Regions from separate parts of the Homo sapiens genome. Here regions 2, 3, 4 and 5 are each linked to region 1. The links are contacts of gene promoters, found by promoter capture Hi-C in blood cells and fetal thymus (Javierre and others, 2016). All regions are on one chromosome and are shown on one strand. The core of a region is centred on a gene start or on the middle of the fragment in contact, and the rest is flanking DNA. Distances in the headings are between cores, read along the strand shown.

Region 1 (2,509 bases), core at 7-2,506:
CTAAGCCAATAATATGATGCGGGATTTCCTAACCCCTGTTTTCATGTACCTCTATAGTAAATTCTTCTCAGGCCTTATCTGACTAATGTCAGGCAAGATTCCAGACCTGCTGGGGCTAGATTTTCATTGCATTAACATCTCTCTTTCCTCCAAGAAGAATGAGATGGTACAAAATAAATAAATAGCAATCAGAGACATGGGAAATTTCCCTTCTCTAGGAGCTGTCCAAAGTCAACACTGGGTGATTTCATTTCTTCCATCCAGGGCACTCCTGTAATCTCAGGGGAATCATTAAACCTCTTGAGGCCCCAGTTTCCTTGGTTAAAATGTATATGTACATAATCCCTAAAGTGCTGGCCAAGCTCCCACCATGAGATAAGAATTTCAGGCCAACCTGACTCTATAATGGATGGCCACAGGAAAGAACATGCTAGTTGTCTGTGATGCCAAGGACTGCACACACTAACACCACCTGGGCACACACTAACACCACCTGGGCAAAAGCCATTGGGTGAGGAGCTGCATTTTTTTTTCTTTGAGACAGAGTCTCGCTATGTCACCCAGGATGGAGTGCAGTGGCGTGATCTTGGCTCATTGCAACCTCCGCCTCCCAGGTTCAAGCCATTCTCCTGCCTCAGCCTCCCGAGTAGCTGGGATTACAGGCAACTGACCCATGCCCAGCTAATTTTTGTATTTTTAGTAGAGACAGGGTTTCAAGTTAGTCAGGCTGGTCTCAAACCCCTGACCTCAAGTGATCCACCCACCTCAGCCTCTCAAAGTGCTGGGATTACAGGCGTGAGCCACCAGGCTCGACCTAATTTCTGTATTTTTAGTAGAGACCGGGTTTCGCTATGTTGGTCAGGCTGGTCTCGAACTCCTGAACTCATGTGACCCGCCCGCCTTGGCCTCCTAAAGTGCTGGGATTACAGGCATGAGCCACCACGCCTGGCCAGGAGCTGCATTTTTATGCCATTATAACTTTTCTAGTTATTTTTTTCTTTTTCTCCACCAGACAGGAGTCAAAATTAAAGTCATCTCTGTTTTTTAAGAAGTAATTCCAAAAAGACCCCAATCAAACCTAATTCCTTAGGATTCTGTTTTCTGAAATCCTAGGCATGACAGTCCTTAAACCAGAATGATTGCTGCTACTCACCATGGCTGGGCCATGCAGGGTCTTCACTGTCATGTTGCGCTGGTGGCTTACTTTGTGCAGGAAGCTCTTTCTGTGAATGTATCTTCCTGTGTATGCCTGTGTTCTATCAATGAGAGTACCTGTTAGTTTTATAGCAATCATTGCCCCTGTTTCGATTGACCTGCTTACTGTCTTTAAGTTGTGGTTGACCCGGAGTTACTGACGAATGCAGGGGTTTTTTTTTTTATTCCATTTCCCGAAGGGGAACAAAAGGGGGACCCTAAAGAAAGGGATGACAGGAAAAGGACCAAATTTTTCTTTCCTTCTACCCTACTTCCACCCCCATTGCCCACAAATCAGAGCAAAATTTTTAATTTACTACAGAGATGAACCAAGTTAGAAATTGTTGTCAAATCTTTTTTGTTCTTCCACAAATTGCCAACACCCTTGTCACGGACCATATGTTCTACTTTCCAGTCACGCAATATGAATCGTGATTTAAATGGGAGAAAACTCATCCTTAGAGGAGCCTTGGTACTAAACTATCTTTACCTCCATTTTATGAATGGGAAAACAAAACTAAAGAAATGAATGACATAAGTGAAAAATTCAGAAATGATATACCCTGGTAGTTTTGTTATCTCCCTGAACTAATTATTTTTTAACCCCATGGTTAGACTCCTACTGGTGCTTAATAAATAATCACTATTCATTGTGTTGATAAAACAAACTGTTTTCCTCTGCTCTCACACCACAACCAGCAACACAAAAGATTTCCATGACCATGTATGTGGGCATTTATCTCCATCAACCAGCAAGCAATCAATTCTGCATCCAACGCCAGCTAAGCATCTTCTAATCCAATTCAATTCTGACGCTATCTCCAGGTAGGTAGAGTCAGATCCCACAGGCTGAAGGCTCAGTCCCACAAAACTGCTCCCACTTTAAGCACCAATCACAGGTCCAAGCCTCTGGGACTTCTGACTGACTGGCCTCAAGTTCAGGTTCCCACAAACCGCTTGAGTTTGATTAGGCTTGATTAATTTGTTAGAACAGCTCACAAAACTTAGGGAACACTAATTTATATTTACCAGTATATTCTAAAGGATATTTTTAAGGATACAAGTCAACAGCCAGATGAAAAGGTACACAGGGCAAGGTTTGAAAGGGTCACAAGCACAGAAGTGTTCTTTCCCATGGAGCTGGGGTGCACCACCCTCCCAGCACAGGGATGAGTTACTGTTTACCTTTCTTAGAACTTCCACAAGTTCAGCGGTCCAAAGGCTCTTTGTATCCCATCCTCTTGGGCCTTTTATGGAGTCTTCATTGGGCAGACATGATTACAACATGGAAAACTGTAAACAAATGTGATTGGAT
Region 2 (2,509 bases), core at 8-2,507, 460 kb after region 1:
GCCAAAGAGGCTTAGACATAGGAATTAAGTTGCAGCTAATCTTAGAAGTTACTTGGTAACAATCTAATAATAAAACAAAATTAACTTAAAAGATCCTTTGTTGCATATTTAAAGAAACATAAATCAAGCTATCTTTTCTTACCACTCACAAGAGTTTTTAATCAGTGTTATTGTTAGATTGTTACCAATTAACTTCTGGATACTTTCGCTTTAAAATACATTTACCAATTAAATGTGTGCATTTTGTATAGCATAATTTTAACATAAAATTGAAATACAATTAGTTTTCCTGTATTATTAATATTTTCTAGCATAGAGATGTAAAAACCCAACAAAAACTGGAAAATATTATTTTTCCCAGATTGTATTCTATCCGTTTTACAATAAAAAATAATTTGAAATGTTAAATTTTACAATTTGGAGTAATAAAAAATATTCAGAGAAGATGCTAATACATAGCTTCCTGGTCATAATTCCTAAGTACTTAATGTTAAATAGTGTTAAACCTTGATGTCCTATCACTCTCATTCCTATACCTGAAGACCAGCATTAACTTCAACTCTCAAACACAAGAGTAAGAGACATTTCAGTCTCAGGGAATTCTGCCATTTTTATAAGACAAAGAAGATGGATGTAAAGCTCTCTTCCCCTTATTTATTTAAAAATATTTTCAATATTATTGCAGAAGTGCTAAAACTCATTGTAGAAAAATTAGAAAATACGGATAAAAATTTTCAGCCACCCATATTGGCCTTTCTCTAAAAATGAGCAGATGTTTAGTAGACATATTATTTTCCTTATGACTATGTCTTAATGAACAGAAATGTGGCATTCAGAAGTAGAAATTGGATGCTTACTAAATTTAAAAATAATCTGTATGCAAGGGTAGAGTGTGAGTGTGAATATGGGGAGGGAGTTCGTCTTTATCCCCTCTGCTCTTTGTTTTTGCAAAATAAGTTCTCTCTGGGTCTGCTTTACAATCCCCAGTACTAGATGTTTTCTCTTCACTACCTTCGATGCTCCAAAACACTTCCATGTTTCAGAGAGTTGGTGGGTCTCTTTCTCTCTCTCATATTTTCACCAGGAAAAAAGGAAAGGCAGCAGCTGACATTATAATATTGGAGCTCTTCTTAACCAAAGCTTCCTTTGGATGCTTAGGAAGCCTAGAGAGGTCAAGTGACTTGCCTAAAGTCTTTCAGCTAAATGGTAGAAGAACCAGAGCTAGGTTGCCCTCTCACCAAGCCTACTACATCTTCAATATTATCATCTTGGTAAATGTGTAATTTTATGTAAATAATTATTATAAAAGGAAGTCATCATATTCCAAAGTTAACAAATATGAGAATATGGACAGTGATTACCAAGGTATAAAACAAAGCTTTCCAAAAAGCAGCATTTTTTTCCTAAACATGCTTTACTTTACTTATTTTTTCCTAAGCACTATTTACTTACAACTTACAATATTTATGAAGTGTGATGAAAAATGCATACATTTGTGATTTCAGTTTCTCCTACAATTTTTCATGTCAGGAACTCTGAGGTAACTTAGGCTATCTGATCCGGCGAGTCTCCAAGAATCAGAGAGGCAGAGCTCAATCTCCAATTCCAACAAGGGCTTTACCAGGGTAAGCCCTGAGAGGAGGTGGGCAGACCGCGGGAGGGTGGCAGGTTGGAGGGAGAGGTAGGGTTGTGGGAAATAGGAGGCAGTCCAGCCTGCTGGCATTCACAGTTCTAGGTCTGGACATGAAACTATATGGGGTACATCCAGATTTCTCAGACTAGATACTATCTGAAGAATTTTCTGCTACGTTTTGATTGAGTTTCGCCGGATCACACCAAAGAGGTTTCGCTCCTGAACTTTTAAAAATCTTCAATTTTATCTTTTGCTTAAAGGCTAATTGTGTGAGGAGCTGTGTTAGGTACAGCAGGGGCTCCAAAGACAAGCAAAGCACAGCCATTTCAGCAAAATTGTAAATCTTAGAGCATAATTATTAAACTTTTGAAAATTTACTCTGACTCATAACACAAGGAAATTTCAGGCACAGGAGGTGGCTATTGGCTACGGTCATGTGCTACATAATATTTCAGTCAACCATGGACTGCTTATACAATGAGATTATAATACTATATTTTTACTGTAACTTTTCTATGTTTAGATACACAAATACTTTTTTTTTTTTTGAGACACAGTTTCACTCTTGTTGCCCAGGCTGGAGTGCAATGGCATGATCTTGGCTCACTGCAACCTCCGCCTCTCGGGTTCAAGCAATTCTCCTGCCTCAGCCTCCCAAGTAACTGAGATTACAGGAATGCGCCATCATGCCCAGCTAATTTTGTATTTTTAGTAGAGACAGGGTTTCTCCATGTTGGTCAGGCTGGTCTCAAACTCCCAAACTCAGGTGATCCACCCACCTCAACCTCCCAAAGTCCTGGAATTACAGGTGTGAGCCACCTCAACCGGCCTCACAAATACTTATTATTGCATTACAGTTTCCTACAGTATTCACTA
Region 3 (2,509 bases), core at 7-2,506, 410 kb after region 1:
GACTGACCAGGAACATCTATGTGCAATTGCACAAGTGAGCAATAAACTATCCTCCTGTTAAACCACTGAGATTTCATACTTTGTTTTTTAATACATTATAGCCCAGCTTATTTGACTAACAGTTTCTCCATCTCTTTATCAAGAGCATGAATAGCCTTCCTCCAAAGTCTTTCCCAGCTCCATAAATCCAACTTATTCTAAGGAGGCCCTCTCCAGTCAGCTGGCTCCTTCCTGGTGCCTTGCTCAGGCTTCTTGGGATCTGTCCTGCCTATGTTCTTCCTCTCCAGGATAGTTCTATATCTTACCTTGGAGAAGGATCATGACACCAGAGGCACTCAGGATTGGATAGATCCTCAAAGCTCACCTAGTCTACCTTACTTTGTAGTGCCTGAGTCACCTCTGCAACATCCCTGCCAAGTGGTGGTCCAGGGTCTGGTTATTGAAAACCTCCAGTACCCGGAAACTCATTGCTTCGCCATATAAAAGTTCCTTCTTTCTCTACATTCTAAAAAGCACACTGCACTGCCCATAATGACTAACCCCCGTGGACTGCACCTAAGTTCTCCCTATTTTATTTTTTAAATGAATAAGTAGGGACTCCATTTAAATGAATGAATAGTAATTGCACTTGAGATATCTGAGCCTTTTTCTGACCTCTTCCTATTATGGTGACATTTTTTTTTCTTTACACAATGGCTGTGTCTTTGATGAATTTGTGTAGCCTGTATATGAGTTCAGAAATTATCCTTATGTCCATCAACTCCATGTGCCCTCTAGCAGAGAGCCCTTTCTTTGAGAAGATCTTGTCTGTAATGTCAAGGACAAAGTCTGATAATAAGTCATAGCTGTCCTGCAGTTCAAATCTTTGGAATCTTTAAGTCTCTATATGTCCACAGGGAATCTCTAAAACCACAAACATCTTTAAAAGGTCAATACAATGAAAGAAGAAAACAAAAATGAATATCCTTATCTGGCTGGAAAGTTTTAACGTGAAAGCTTTTTGTAGTGAGGGACTCTCTGATATAGAGGCTATTCAGTTCATAATGCTGGATAATCAAACCCAAAACTACAAAAGGAAAAATTGACCAATTTGACACATCAAAATTTCAAATTTTACCTTGCAAAAGACTGCTGAGAGCATGAAAATACAGACTGGAAGAAAACATTTGCAAACCACATATGACAAAGGACTAGTGTTTAGAATATATAAAGAACTCCCAAAACTAAACAGTAAGAGAAAAAATTCCAGTTAGAAAATGGGCAAAAGACATTAATATAGTTTGGATATTTTCTTCCACGCAAATCCCATGTTGAAATGTAATTCCCAATGCTGGAAGTGGGGTCTGGTAGGAGGTGTTTGGGTCATGGGGGCACATCCCTCATGGCTTGGTGCTGTCTTCATGACAGTAAGTTCCCATGAGATCTGGTCATTTAAAAGGTATGTTGCACCTCCCCCACCTTGCTCCTGCTTTTGCCATGTGAAGCGGCTGCTCCTGCTTTGCCTTCCACCATGAATGTAAGCTTCCTGAGGCCTCGCTAGAAGCTGATGCCAGAGCTATGCTTCCTGTACAGCCTGTAGAACCGTGAGCCAATTAAACCTCTAAATTACCCAGTCTCAGGTATTTCTTTCTTTTTTTTTTTTTTTAATTTTCATTTTTATTTTTATTGATCATTCTTGGGTGTTTCTCACAGAGGGGGATTTGGCAGGGTCATAGGACTATAGTGGAGGGAAGGTCAGCAGATAAACAAGTGAACAAAGGTCTCTGGTTTTCCTAGGCAGAGGACCCTGAGGCCTTCCGCAGTGTTTGTGTCCCTGGGTACTTGAGATTAGGGAGTGGTGATGACTCTTAACGAGCATGCTGCCTTCAAGCATCTGTTTAACAAAGCACATCTTGCACCGCCCTTAATCCATTTAACCCTGAGTGGACACAGCACATGTTTCAGAGAGCACAGGGTTGGGGGGTAAGGTCACAGATCAACAGGATAAGAATTTTTCTTAGTACAGAACAAAGTGAAAAGTCTCCCATGTCTACTTCTTTCCACACAGACACCGCAACCATCCGATTTCTCAATCTTTTCCCCACCTTTCCGCCCTTTCTATTCCACAAAACCGCCATTGTCATCATGGCCCGTTCTCAATGAGCTGTTGGGTACACCTCCCAGACGGGGTGGTGGCCGGGCAGAGGCGCTCCTCACTTCCCAGTAGGGGCGGCCGGGCAGAGGCGCCCCTCACATCCCGGACGGGACGGCTGGCCGGGCAGGGGGCTGACCCCCCCCACCTCCCTCCCGGACGGGGCGGCTGGCCGGGCGGGGGGCTGACCCCCCCACCTCCCTCCCGGACGGGGCGGCTGGCCGGGCGGGGGGGCTGACCCCCTCACCTCCCTCCCGGATGGGGCGGCTGGCGGGGCAGGGGGCTGACCCCCCCCACCTCCCTCCCGGACGGGGTGGCTGGCCGGGCAGAGGGGCTCCTCACTTCCCAGTAGGGGCGGCCGGGCAGAGGCGCCCCTCA
Region 4 (2,509 bases), core at 7-2,506, 390 kb after region 1:
AGTTTGTCTCCTTTTCATTGCTAAGTAGCATTCCATTGTACAGCTAGACAGTACATTTTGTTTATCCACTCACCAAGTGAAAGGCATTTGGGTAGTTTCCAGTTTGGGTAATTGTGAATAAAGCTACAATGAACACTCATGTTTTTAAAAATGATGGCACAGAAGAATATTTAGTGATAGGGAAAGATGTTCATGACCAATTGAATTGTTAAATGAAAAAGGTTACAAAATGAACCCTTTTTTGTAATAAATATATTGGCATAAATAAGTAAATACACAGAAAAAGTCCAAGACGTTAATGAAGGTTATGGCTGGGTGTTGAGATTATATGATTTTTAAGTTAAAAAACGAAGTGGGCAAAAGAGTTGAACATGCACTTCACAAAGGAAGATGTGCCAATAAGCACATGAAAAAGCACTCAAAATCACTAGGCATCAACGAAATGAAAATTAAAGCACAATGAGATACCACTACTCATAGCAACAAATATGGGCAAGGATGTGGAGCAATGAGCACTCTCATCCATTACCGGTGGGGATGTAGAATTGTGCAAGCACTTTGAAAACTGGCCTGGCAGTTTTTCATAAAGTTAAACATGCACCTACTCTATGACCTGGCAAATGCACTTCTAGGTATTTACTCAGGAGAAATGAAAACATCTGGAAACAGAGAAGACTTGTACATGAATGTCCATAGCAGCTTTATTCATAATACTGAATACTCCAAGAAGAAAATTAGATTTCAAAAAATGTTTTTCTTTTCTCTTTTCTCTTTTCCCAGCCTTGGCCTCAACAAAAATAGCAACAAACTAGAAACAACCCAAATGTCCATCAGCAGGGGAATGAATAAACAACATGGATATTTACATACAGCAGAGTTCTGCTCGGAGATAACAAAAACACAATAGCTCCTGATACATACGACACATGGATAGGCCTCAGTATTGCTATACCGAGTGAAAGGAAGTCAGGCACAAAAGGGTACATATTGTAAGATTCCATTTATATGAAGTTCTGAAACAGGCAAATGCAATCTATTGCAAAAGAAATCAGGACAGTGGTTTCAAGTGGGGCAGGGAGTGGACAGAGATTGACTGGGATGGCATGATGGAAATTTTGGGAGTTATGGCAATATTCTATATCTTAATGGGATGTGGGTTATACAGATGTATGCAACTGTTGAAACTTGTCCAACTGTATATTTAAGACCTGTCGTTTCACTATATAAAAATTATACTTCAACAAAAATAAGGAAAATTAAAAAGAAACAAAATCTAAATCTTTTTATTATGAAAGTTTTCAAGCACACAAAAAAGTAGAACGTATACTGTACTGAGCACTCAGTCATATTTGAGTAATCACTTGCTAGCTTCAGTTATTGGTAATAAATTGCTTAAGACATAGGTCCCAACAGTTCCCTACATGTTTGTGAGCCAAGAATGATTGAATGTTCACTTTCTAATGAAAGGCCTTTCTTCTCCCCTTGACAGGTCTCATGATTTGGTAGCATTTTCTTGCCTTCTCAGGGATTTCAATGGAATATCAGAATTTGACTCATTGAGATCTATTGAATAAATTTGGTCATTTTTAAATATCAGCGGGGCGTCATCTTTTAGGGCTTTTCCACTAGTAAACATTGCCTTTTAGAAGAAGATACCCAGGACTAATTATTTATTCTAAAATAATCTCAATATTTTTGCTATTTCACCAAGCAAAGAATTACAGCGATAGTTTATACTAATACTTCTCTGCATCATGTTTTAGAAGATAAATGAATAGAGAGAACGAGGCAGATTTAGGTTAGAATACTGTTTTTACCAATTGTTTTCTATGTGACTCTGAATAAGTTTCTTTTCTTTTGTTTTTCTTTCTTTTTTTTTTCTTTTTTTTTGAGATGGAGTTTCACTCTTGCTGCCCAGGCTGGAGTGCAATGGTGCGATCCCAGCTCACCGCAACCTCTGCCTCCCAGGCTCAAGTGATTCTACTGCCTCAGCCTCCTGAGTAGCTGGGATTACAGGCATGTGCCACCATGGCCGGCTAGTTTTGTATTTTTAGTAGAGGCGGGGTTTCTCCATGTTGGTCAGGCTGGTCTTGAACTCCCAATCTCAGGTGATCTGCCCGCCTCGGCCTCCCAAAGTGCTAGTATGTCCAGAATTGGTTCCTTCAGGTGGGTTCTTGGTCTCGCTGACTTCAAGAATGAAGCCGCGGACCCTCGCCGTGAGTCTTACAGTTCTTAAAGATGGTGTGTCCGAAATTTGTTCGTTCAGATGTTCAGATGTGTCCGGAGTTTTTTCCTTCTGGTGGGTTCGTGACTTCAGGAGTGAAGCCACAGACCTTCGCAGTGAGTGTTACAGCTTTTAAAGGTAGTGCGGACCCAAAGAGTGAGCAGCAGCAAGATTTATTGTGAAGACCAAAAGAACAAAACTTTCACAGTGTCGAAGGGGACCTGAGTGGGTTGCCGCTGCTGGCTCGGGTGTCCAGCTTTTATTCCCTTATTTGGCCCCACCCAT
Region 5 (2,509 bases), core at 5-2,504, 380 kb after region 1:
ATAGACTGAAGAGAAACATCAAGATTTTTTTTCTTGTTCTACTATATGTTAAAATGAACTATTATACGTAAAATTGTAGCACAGAGCTTCAATTTTAAAAATTTTGTGGTATCAATACAATAGTCAAAATAGGAATTAATGTAAAAGAATAAGTCTAAAACAGATAATCTATATACCTCTCTCTATATATGTGAATGAAATATCACAATCCAATGATGGAAGAAAGGATTATCAGTAGGTGATTTTTTTTTTTTTTGAGATGGAGTATTACTCTGTCACCCAGGTTGGAGTGCAGTGGGGTGATCTCAGCTCACGGCAACCTCTGCCTCCGGGGTTCCAGCTATTCTCCTGCCTCAGCCTCCTGAGTAGCAGGGATTACAGGTGCATGCCACCACACCAAGCTAATTTTTGTATCTTTAGTAGAGACGAGGGTTTCACCATTGTTAGCCAGGCTGGTTTTGAACTCCTGATCTCAGGTGATCCACCCACCTTGGCCTCCCAAAGTGCTGGGATTATAGGCATGAGCCACCGCGCCCAGCCAATAGATGATATATATATGTTTTTTATACTTTAAGTTTTAGGGTACATGCGCACAACGTGCAGGTTACACATAGGCATGGGCAAGGACTTCATGTCTAAAATACCAAAAGCAATGGCAACAAAAGCCAAAATTGACAAATGGGATGTAATTAAGCTAAAGAGCTTCTGCACAGCAAAAGAAACTACCATCAGAGTGAACAATAGATGATATTTTTAAACAAAAGATTATATGAAAACAACAACTAAGCCAAACTTAATTTCAGTGTTTTGACTTCACAATTTCCATACATCTTTGTATCCATTGAAGTTCAGAAAAAAATTTCTGTATAAACATAAGATATATATTTTTATTTGAAAATGTAGATTAAGATATTAATATTTATAGAGAGGAATATTCTAAGCATAAACAAAGAAAGAGGTCATGAAAGAAAATATTATATTTCGAGCATGGAAAAAAGTAAAACTGATTCACGGGGCTTCTGAGTTCTACAATTGCAGGGGAAGGATGGGAACTCCTGGAGCCTCCATACGTCTTGCTTCTGTAGATCAAAACCCAGCATCATCCCAATTAAATAGAGGCACTTCCTCAACATACATGACAAAGAGATTTAGACAGAGTGGTTACTTATCACACAGCAGATCACCTCCCTCCTCTATTCAGATCCTTTCAGTAGCTTTCATCACACTCCAAGTAGAAGCCGAAGTCTTTCCAGTGGCCTCAAAGCCCTATGGCCACCTCTTGGACCTTGTCTCTTTCTACACTTTTCCTTAATGACTCCACTCCAGCCACACTGACCATTGTACCTGCAACCCATCAGGCACACTCCTGTTCCTGGGCCTTTGTTTTTGCTGCTCCTTCTGCCTTAAGGCCCTCTCCACTTTCTTCAACCCTCTCTGTTTCTTTTTCAGCAGGGCTGCCTCTTCCCTGGCACTTGCTTTATTTTCCTCCATACTACTAATCCCCACTGACACTATATGTTTACTCATTCCTCTGTTTTTTGTCTCCCTGCCTCTGGAATGTAAGTTTGAGACAGAGTCTACTTTGATCACTCCTATATTTCCAGCATCTAGGGCAATGTCTGCATATGGTATTCAGTATTTATTGTTAAATGATTGAATAAATATACTTATTAATTAGTACTTTGATTTCCAAGTAACAGAGAACCATTTGAACTAAAGTTGAAATTAGCTAAGGGTGGAGAGGGAGCTGGACCATAGAACCAGGGACTGGAGTGTTATAAGCATCTGAGGTTATTCTCTTTCTCTGTTTTCCACTTCATACTTGCCTCTCTCCATAGAACCCCATCTCTGTTTCTCAGAGCACATGGTGAACAAAGGGCCCCAGCAGCACTCAAGTTTTACCACAACTGGTCCAGTTACCTGGGGAAGAAATAACCTAATTCTGTTGATTCTCATTTCAAGTCCCTGGGGAGGCTGTGAATGACAGTCTGGACTGATGCCCATCCAGGAGCAATTGACTGTGGTCAGGGTGAAGGTAGGGGTGGGAATTTCATTGTGATCCTATGGCTGCCCCTCTGCAACCATGCATAGAGGGGAGGGCAATTCCTAACAAGGGGTATTAGGCAGGCAAGCCAATAGGCATCTACTATAACATAAAATTAACTCTTTCAGTTCAATTATAAAAAAATGCCAAAACCTAACTTAAAATTGGAAAAGATAAGAACAGATAGTTTGCCAAAAAGGAAATACAAATTGTTCAATACATTTTAAAAAGTAGGTTGGGCATGGTGGCTCATGCCTGCAATCTCAGAACTTTGGGAAGCCACTCAGGAAGATTGTTTGAGGCAAGGAGTTCTCCAACTATAACAGCCTAGGTGATATAGTGAGATCCTGTCTCAAAAATTAAAAAAAAAAATAGCTTGGCATGTTGGTGTGTGTCTGTAATCCTAGCTACTCCGGAGGCCAAGGCTGGAGGACTGCTTGTGCCCAGGAGTCTGAGGCTGCAGTG

The links. The method cuts DNA at HindIII sites, captures the fragments that hold promoters and counts their contacts. A CHiCAGO score of 5 or more calls a contact.
Region 2: a fragment that was not itself captured here is called in contact with the fragment with the promoter of IL17F in region 1 in 6 of 17 cell types (activated CD4 T cells, total B cells, non-activated CD4 T cells and 3 more); the score reaches 6.9 in activated CD4 T cells.
Region 3: a fragment that was not itself captured here is called in contact with the fragment with the promoter of IL17F in region 1 in 3 of 17 cell types (naive CD8 T cells, activated CD4 T cells and total CD4 T cells); the score reaches 5.9 in naive CD8 T cells.
Region 4: a fragment that was not itself captured here is called in contact with the fragment with the promoter of IL17F in region 1 in 1 of 17 cell types (naive CD8 T cells); the score reaches 5.3 in naive CD8 T cells.
Region 5: a fragment that was not itself captured here is called in contact with the fragment with the promoter of IL17F in region 1 in 3 of 17 cell types (total CD4 T cells, naive CD8 T cells and total CD8 T cells); the score reaches 5.9 in total CD4 T cells.

The regions. Positions count from the first base shown.
Region 1 is chr6:52,243,244-52,245,752 of GRCh38, forward strand. It overlaps IL17F (interleukin 17F), which reads right to left and starts at 1,257. Exons shown (of 3, transcript NM_052872.4): 1 at 1,154-1,257. The coding sequence starts at 1,186. The HindIII fragment of the contact is 13,260 bases long and covers 1-2,509 here.
Region 2 is chr6:52,698,922-52,701,430 of GRCh38, forward strand. No RefSeq gene overlaps it. Among named protein-coding and RNA genes, the nearest start is that of TMEM14A, 29 kb to the left of the region's middle. The HindIII fragment of the contact is 238 bases long and covers 1,139-1,376 here.
Region 3 is chr6:52,653,345-52,655,853 of GRCh38, forward strand. No RefSeq gene overlaps it. Among named protein-coding and RNA genes, the nearest start is that of TMEM14A, 17 kb to the right of the region's middle. The HindIII fragment of the contact is 525 bases long and covers 995-1,519 here.
Region 4 is chr6:52,636,456-52,638,964 of GRCh38, forward strand. No RefSeq gene overlaps it. Among named protein-coding and RNA genes, the nearest start is that of TMEM14A, 33 kb to the right of the region's middle. The HindIII fragment of the contact is 6,545 bases long and covers 1-2,509 here.
Region 5 is chr6:52,619,004-52,621,512 of GRCh38, forward strand. No RefSeq gene overlaps it. Among named protein-coding and RNA genes, the nearest start is that of TRAM2-AS1, 43 kb to the left of the region's middle. The HindIII fragment of the contact is 3,333 bases long and covers 1-2,509 here.